Linked DNA regions of Homo sapiens: region 2 is linked to region 1. The links are contacts of gene promoters, found by promoter capture Hi-C in blood cells and fetal thymus (Javierre and others, 2016). All regions are on one chromosome and are shown on one strand. The core of a region is centred on a gene start or on the middle of the fragment in contact, and the rest is flanking DNA. Distances in the headings are between cores, read along the strand shown.

The links. The method cuts DNA at HindIII sites, captures the fragments that hold promoters and counts their contacts. A CHiCAGO score of 5 or more calls a contact.
Region 2: a fragment that was not itself captured here is called in contact with the fragment with the promoter of SUPT7L in region 1 in 1 of 17 cell types (endothelial precursors); the score reaches 6.4 in endothelial precursors.

The regions. Positions count from the first base shown.
Region 1 is chr2:27,661,786-27,666,127 of GRCh38, forward strand. It overlaps SUPT7L (SPT7 like, STAGA complex subunit gamma), which reads right to left and starts at 1,829. Exons shown (of 6, transcript NM_014860.3): 1 at 1,544-1,829; 2 at 394-496. The coding sequence starts at 407. It overlaps SLC4A1AP (solute carrier family 4 member 1 adaptor protein), which reads left to right and starts at 2,104. Exons shown (of 14, transcript NM_018158.3): 1 at 2,104-2,792; 2 at 3,315-3,510. The coding sequence starts at 2,130. The HindIII fragment of the contact is 6,150 bases long and covers 1-2,854 here.
Region 2 is chr2:27,461,651-27,465,506 of GRCh38, forward strand. It overlaps IFT172 (intraflagellar transport 172), which reads right to left. Exons shown (of 48, transcript NM_015662.3): 18 at 3,761-3,856; 19 at 1,447-1,531; 20 at 1,051-1,143; 21 at 109-186. Among named protein-coding and RNA genes, the nearest start is that of KRTCAP3, 21 kb to the left of the region's middle. The HindIII fragment of the contact is 1,056 bases long and covers 723-1,778 here.

The DNA.
Region 1 (4,342 bases), core at 579-3,078:
ACGCTCAATCCTGAACAATAAGCAAGGCATGATAAGGTATCTTGATACATCTGTGCTGGATCAATAGGAGAAAAACTAGTAGGGTTAAAGATAATAAGAAGTGGTTCTTACTCTGTGTGTCTTAGGCATGATCCTGGTGGAAAAATTTATGAACCATTAATCTAAATGGCATTATGCTTTCAACTTTTGACATATAGAACGTGAGAGATTTCTGCTGCCTTCTAACTGGTATCCCTTCCTCCAATCTCTCTTTGTATGTCATCTATTCTCTACACTGCTGCTAGACTTACTCTTTTTAAAACTTAAATCAAATGGCTTCCCATTGCCTATTGGAAAAAGTCAGAATTCCTTGGCTTACCATTCAACAAAATTCACAATCTGGTTTCAACTCACCTTTGCAGATTCATTGTCCATATGTCTCTTCAAGTTCAACAAACATTTATCAAATGCCAGGCATTCTGTGTCGGTCAAAGACTGATAATGTGAGATCCTTGCCCTGAAGTGAGGAAGAGAAACAGAAGCAGAATATTTCAATATGAAACATGGTAAGTACTGTTCTAGAGGTATATGGACCTGGGGTACTGGAAGCACAAAGGAGGAGCTTCCTGGGTGAAATGACTACCTTTGTTCTAACAACATTATACTACTCAGTTTCTTGAGAATGCTGTACATTTCCACAATTGACACTTTCAGCTGTGAACTCTGCCAGAAATGCTCTGCCAACCTTGCACATCCCTGGCAGACTCATATTCATTTTTAAGTACAGCATAAGTCCCCACCGTCCGTCACTTCACCAGTGCATCTCCCTTTCTCTATTCTCACAGTGCTTTGCAAGTCTATGTCACAGCAGTTATCCTTGGATTTTAATTAGTACTTATCGCAATAGATTTTTTCTGCCCGTCTATTTCTTATGGCTGTGGTCTTGTTACAGGGCCAGGCACACAGAAATATCTGGCATTTGTTGAATGTTTACTATATGCCAGACTTCACCTTTTTTGTTTGTTTCTTTTTTGAGACAGGGTTTCACTCTGTAGCCCAGGCTGGAGTGCAGTGGTGCAGTCATGGTTCACTGCAGCCTCAACCTCCTGGGACCAAGCAATCCTCCCACCTCAGCCTCTGGAGTAGCTGGGACTACAGGCGCGCACCATCAAACCTGGATTTTTTCTTTTTTTTTTTTTTTTTTGGCGAGACAGGGTCTCGCCATGTTGCCCAGCCTCCTCTGGAACTCCTGGGCTCAAGCAATCCTCCCGCCTCAGCCTCCCAAAATGTTGGGATTACAGGCATGAGCCACCGGTCTGGCTGGCCTTTATTGTTTGATTCAATTCTTCCAACAACCCTATGAGGCTAATAATCTTATCCCCATTTTTCAGAGTGAGGGCTGAGGCCTAGTGTCTTGCCCAATGTCACAAATGGCGAGGTCAAAAATCGACAGTCTCCAGAGTCTGCTCTCTTAACCACTTAACTATTCTGCCTTAATAATTTCAGAAAAAAAATAAATGAATGAACGAAATAACAAAAAAGTCGCCCTCTTCCCTTACTTTACCGAAAGGAGCACGAAGAACAGGCACGGAGCCCAAGGAATGCCCAAGTCCCTCCAGGGGTTTCCTCGGTCACGGTCCGCCGGCGCAGGCGCCAATCACAGGGTCCTGAGGTCGCCTGACGTTCAGGGCAGCCGGAAGACGGGGAGGTCTGGACCTGAACCGAGACAAGGAGGTACCACACTATTCACTGCTGCGTCGCAGAGCGGGCTGGGCGGCTGTCTGGACCTCGAGAGGCCTGAGGCAAGGATCGCGTCAGACCCCGAAAGCTGGTTTGTTGATTAGTGATCTAAGACCGCCGGAAGCGCTTCTTCTCAATCAAGCTATGCAACAGGAAGTCATTACGATCCCGTTGTAACCTCTAAATATGTCCCCGTTCTGCACAGCATCCCGATAACCGTTTTGTTTTTCTCATATTATGACCTTCTCATGTTAGCACCACTTCGCAACGCTCCAGGTCGTGAAGGAGCAACTTCACCATCGCCGCCTACAGACGCCACTGGGAGCTTGGGAGAGTGGGACGTGGACAGGAACGTAAAGACCGAAGGGTGGGTTTCGAAGGAGCGGATTTCGAAGTTGCACCGGTTGAGGATGGCTGACATTCTCTCTCAGTCAGAGACCCTGGCGTCGCAAGACCTCAGTGGGGACTTCAAGAAGCCAGCTCTGCCGGTGTCCCCAGCGGCGCGGAGTAAGGCCCCGGCCAGCAGTTCTTCAAACCCTGAGGAGGTACAGAAGGAAGGGCCCACTGCGTTGCAGGACTCCAATTCTGGGGAGCCCGACATCCCTCCTCCTCAGCCGGACTGCGGTGATTTTAGGAGTCTACAGGAGGAGCAGTCGCGCCCCCCGACAGCGGTTTCTTCCCCTGGCGGTCCAGCCCGGGCTCCCCCCTACCAAGAGCCTCCATGGGGTGGCCCTGCCACAGCCCCCTACAGCTTAGAGACCCTGAAGGGCGGCACTATCCTTGGCACCCGTAGCTTGAAAGGGACGAGTTACTGCCTTTTCGGGAGGCTGTCTGGCTGCGACGTGTGCCTGGAGCACCCTTCGGTGTCTCGGTACCACGCAGTGCTGCAGCACAGGGCGTCCGGCCCTGACGGAGAATGCGACAGCAACGGGCCGGGCTTCTACCTCTACGATCTGGGAAGCACCCATGGCACTTTTCTCAACAAAACTCGCATCCCACCTCGCACCTACTGTCGAGTCCACGTTGGGCATGTTGTTCGCTTTGGAGGCAGCACCCGGCTCTTTATCCTGCAGGTAGGTAGAAAAACCTAGAATTGAAATTTCGGGTTCATTGGACTGCGTTCTTGTGCTTCTTAAGCTTTGGATGAGGAAGAAGAATCTCCCACTCAGCGATTACGAAAGTGAAGGAATCAAGTCTGGCCTATCATCTTCAGACGGCTGTACACATTGCTATATTTCTGAAAGTCATGTTCACAATCCCGAACTCTAAAATAACTTGTTTGGCCAGGCGCGGTGGCTCGCGCCTGTAATCCCAACACTTTGGGAGGCCCAGGCGGGAGGATCGCTTTAGCCCAGGAGTTTGAGAGGAGGCTGGGCAACATGGCAAGACCCTGTCTCTTAAAAAAAAAAAAAAAAATTAGCCAGGCATCATGGTCCCAGCTGCTCAGGAGGCTGAGGTGGGAGGATCACCTGAGCCCAGGAGGTCAAGGCTGCAGTGAGGTGTATTACAGCCACTGCACTCCAGTCCAGCCTAGGCGACAGAGCAAGACCCTGTCTCTAAATAAATAAATAACCTTTTTTTCCTTGGTTCATCAGGGACCAGAGGAAGACCGAGAGGCAGAATCCGAGTTAACAGTAACACAGTTGAAGGAATTGCGCAAGCAGCAGCAAATATTGTTGGAGAAGAAGATGCTAGGAGAAGACTCAGATGAAGAAGAGGAAATGGATACCTCTGAAAGGAAGATAAATGCTGGTAGCCAAGATGATGAGATGGGTTGCACCTGGGGAATGGGTAAGAAATTAAAATTGCTGCCGGAGGTTAATATTTTAAGTTCATTACAAGTGGTACCCTTAAATGTTTTTTTAAATCATACAGCTTTTCATGGCTCCTTGAGATAGATAGGGCAAACACAATTTGCACATGAGGTAACCAAAACCCAGAGAGATTCACTGACTTTACTGTTGTAAAGAAATTGACTTATAGGCACTTTGGATTTTTTAAAAATTTATTTTTAATGCACTCTCTTGTTCAAAACTTGTCCTAAGCATAAAATTATTATTTTTACAATTCTAAAATTTTATATTTATTAAGTACTGACCTTGTGCTATGTGATTATCATTGGAGGGGATGGAACTCTATTCAATCAAATAAATGGGATGTTATTCAATATAGGATATTCTCTTGAATTTTTTGTACTTTGTGAAGATATCCTGAAATGTGGAATATCTAATCAGATAAAGCTGGTCCCTTAGCCAAAATAATAAACTTTCTTTAACACCAGATATTTTAGAAAATGGATATTCAGGAGATGGGAGTATAAAAAGGTAGAAGATGGCATTAATATATAGTTGGGAAGATAGGAAAAATTATGAAATTACTTGTGCTAAGTGCCAAACAAAAGCTAGAAACCATAAGTATGCTAGAGTGAAAGTTTGGAGAAGAGAGAACAGTCACTGGGGACTTAGACCTGTGTTGTCTGATATGGTAGCCACTAGCCACATGTGGTTACTGAGCACTTGCAGTGTGGCTAGTTGCAATTGATGTGTGCTGTAAATGCAAAATACACACTGAATTTCAAAGACTTAGTCTGAAAAAAAGAATGTAAAATATCTCTTTCATGATA
Region 2 (3,856 bases), core at 1-2,500, 200 kb before region 1:
TCCAAGCCCCAACCCTGTTCTGGTTTCTATGGCCTCCTTGACAAAAGGAGGTTTTTGAAATTGGCAGAACCAAATTCTGAACAACTGTGGAGAAGATAAAACAGGTACCTTGGCTTCAGCCACAGCGATACACTCATCCCAACGGTGTAGCTCCTGGTACATGCCCATGGCCTCCTCCACAGCATTCTAGGGGAAACAGGCAGAGCAGAGAGGGACACCAGAAAGATATGAGGATCAGAAAGCAGCAAGCTCTCCTCAGCCTGGCTAAGATGCCAGCCCATGAGGACCAAAAGCCTTTTAACTACTATACCAACAGAAATACTGGGAAACTAAAAGAAGCTTAAGCTTCAGGGCTCCTTATTTGCACACACCCTTTCCAAGGCAACTGTTCTTTTTCTTGAGATGGAGTCTCACTCTGTTGCCGAGGCTGAAGTGCAGTTGTGTGATCTCGGGCTCACTGCAACCTCTGCTTCCTTGGCTCAAGCGATTCTCCCACCTCAGCCTCCCGAGTAGCTGGGATTACAGGCGTGTGCCACCACTCCTGGCTAATTTTTTGTATTTTTAGTAGAGATGGGGTTTCACCATGTGGCCAGGCTGGTCTTGAACTCCTGACCTCATGTGATCCACCTGCCTCAGCCTCCCAGCGTGCTGGGATTACTGGTGTGAGCCACCACGCCTGGCCTAAGGCAACTGTTCTTAAAGAGAGCTCCTCAAATTGTATAAGCTTCCGGCCCACAAAACCTGGATCTACCCCTATGCACAAGAATTGCAAAGACAGGCTCTGGACTGGAGGGGAGGTAGTAGACTGCTTATGAAAGAAAGTAGTAATCAAAGGCCAAAGAAGGAAGTTTGTCTAGAAAAGTAAGGACTGACACAAGAGAAGGAAATTAAGAAAAGGGTGAAATTAACTATATAAACCCCTTTGAAAGTTTTCCCCAAACCTTTGGAAGCCTAGTTCACCAGCACGCTTTCCTCCCTTGAGTTTGTACCCCCTTTTCTCTCTTTTTCCCTCATATCCCCTCTTCCATCCTGTCCCTCTTTTCCTATTACCTGTTCCAAAAAGATCATTTCAGCCAGTTTGTAGTTCTTTTCCAGCATGGCTAGACGTGCTCGGACCTGATAAAAGTCTGTTCCTTCTCCGCCCTGTGGGGGAAAAAGGAGGTTCTGATTTTTCTGTAGGTGCTGCCATTCTGTCTGTGAGGGCTGAAATTGGAAGGCCAGAAGGATGTAGAAAACAAAAGACTTGGGAAGGTAAAACACTTCATGGAGCTTAAAGGTTTGAGGTTTAGCAAAAGCAATTCTGAAATGGTCTGACTTGAGGGTAAAGGTGGGGTGGGCAGGGTAAAGGAAACTGGGGATGGCTGGAAAGCTAGGAATCATGGGGCTGAATACTAAGAGAAATCAGCTTGGGAGACAGACAGAATGAATCAGGAGCATAATACTTGCATATTCCCGGGATACTTGATCTGCAATCTCATTGGTCTCATGCAGGAATCGAGCTTTTGCTACTTGGCCCAAAGCAGAAAAGCACCTATGGCATGGAAGCAATAACATTAATAGTAATATTATTATAGAATCATCATTAATTCATTGGTTCAGCAAATACAAATTGATGTACATCTATGATGTGCCAGCCAATGTCTTGTCACTGGAGACATATAGAGACCAAGGAAGATGAGGGCCTTGCTCTCAGAGAACTTCCATTCTGGTGGAGACAAATAATTAGTAAAATTGGAGATAATAAAAAATAAAATAAAGTAATGTAATATTACAGATCAAGCTTGTTCAACCCATGGCCCAAGATGGCTTTGAATGTGGCCCAACACAAATTCATAAACTTTCTTAAAACATTATGAGATTTTTTTGTGATTCTTTTCTCTTTTTTTTTTTTTTTTTTTAAGCTCATCAGCTATCATTAGTGTTAGTATATTTTATGTGTGGCCCAAGATAATTCTTCTTCCGATGTGGCTCAGGGAAGCCAAAGATTGGATACCCCTGTTATAGATAGTGACTGAAGGGGCCACTTAAGTTGGTAGTTGGAGGTCTCTCTGATGAACTGACATTTGAGCTGAGACCTGAATACAAGAAAAAGCCAGTCATGGCAGGATGGGGAAAAGTTATTCCTGGAGAGCGAACAGCTAGTGTTAAGGCTCTATAGCAGGTATGAGCTTGGCACACTCACAGAGCCAAAAGGATGCCAGTGTGGTTGGAGACTAATGGGCAAGCAGGAAGCTGGCATGAGAAGGAAGCAGAGGCCAAAAAACTTCAGGGCTAAGGCCACACAAGGAGTTTGGGTTTTATACTAAGTAAAACAGTAAGCTAATGGAAGGTTCCAGTCATGAAAATGACACAATCTATGTTTAAAAAAATGACCTCAGCTGCTCTGGGATGAATAGATGGTAGGGGTACAAGAAACAGTATCAGTGCGACTAATTAAGAGGCTGTGCAATATTGCAGGTGGGAGACGGCAGTGGTCTGCACAAGGATGGAGACATCAGGATGTGTTTTGAAGACAGAGTCCTTAGGACTTACTGATAATCTACATGTGGGAAGTCTGGAGAAAATGGGATCAAGGATGATTCCTAGCCAAAATGGCAGCAGGTGACATTTATCGAGCACTTTGCACAGATTCTCTCATCACTCCTTCATTACCAATATCCTTACCATCTTCTTTATCATCATATGAGGCAAATACTATTATTAACCCTATTCTACACAGAGAAAATCAAGAAGCCAAGGTTTGGGAAGGTCAAATAACCTCTCTATGGTTATATAAGTTGGTAATTGGAACCAAGATTTGAATTCAAGGAGTCTGGAGTCCCAAGTTTGTCCTGTGAACTGCACTCCTATACCAAACCTGGATTATACACATATGCATAGATTGAAGGGTATGAATAGTAAAAAAATGCTAAAGGGAACCTAGTTACAAGAAGGGGCAGTAAAAATAATAAAAGACATACTCTTGTTTTTTCACTTTTTTTTTTTTTGAGATACGATCTCGCGCATCAGCCAGGCTGGAGTGCAGTTGCATGATCTCAGCTCACCGCAACTTTGCCTCCCGGGTTCAAGTGATTCCTGTGCCTCAGCCTCCTGAATAGCTGGGACCACAGGTGCGCATCACCATGCCCGGCTAATTTTTGTATTTTTAGTAGAGCTGAGGTTTTGCCATGTTGGCCAGGCTGCTCTCAAACTCCTGGCTTCAAGTGATCTGCCCACCTCGCCCTCCCAAAGTGCTAGGATTACAGGCATGAGCCGCCGTGCCCAGCCAAGACATATTTTTTTTTTTTTTGAGACAGAGTCTTGCTCTGTCACCCAGGCTGGAGTACAGTGGTGCAATCTCAGCTCACTGCAACCTCTGCCTCCTGGGTTCAAGCAATTCTCCTGCCTCAGCCTCCTCAGTAGCTGGGATTACAGGCGCCCGCCACTACGCCTGGCTAATTTTTGTATTTTTAGTAGAGACGGGGTTTCACCATGTTGGCCAGGCTGGTCTTGAACTCCTGACCTTGTGATCTGCCCACCTCAGCCTCCCAAAGTGCTGGGATTACAGGCATCAGCCATCACGCCTGGTCAAGGCATACTCTTATAATCTAGGATGGGAGAGTGTTTGGAATATTGTACTGCAGAAGGGCTCTATGCTATTTGCTGGCAGTGGGAAGGGAGGGAGTACCTTAACACCGGATTGGAGTAGCCCACAGGGAAAATACTCATGTGATTATCCCTCCTAGCTGCGTGGCACCTCTGTTCTACATGTCTACCTCACCTCTCCGCAATGTGTAGTTGCCTTGCCTCTAGTGCCAGTTTACTCAAGGTTTTCCACATTGCCTCTGTTTCTGGGGTCATTTCCAGAGTCTCTAAG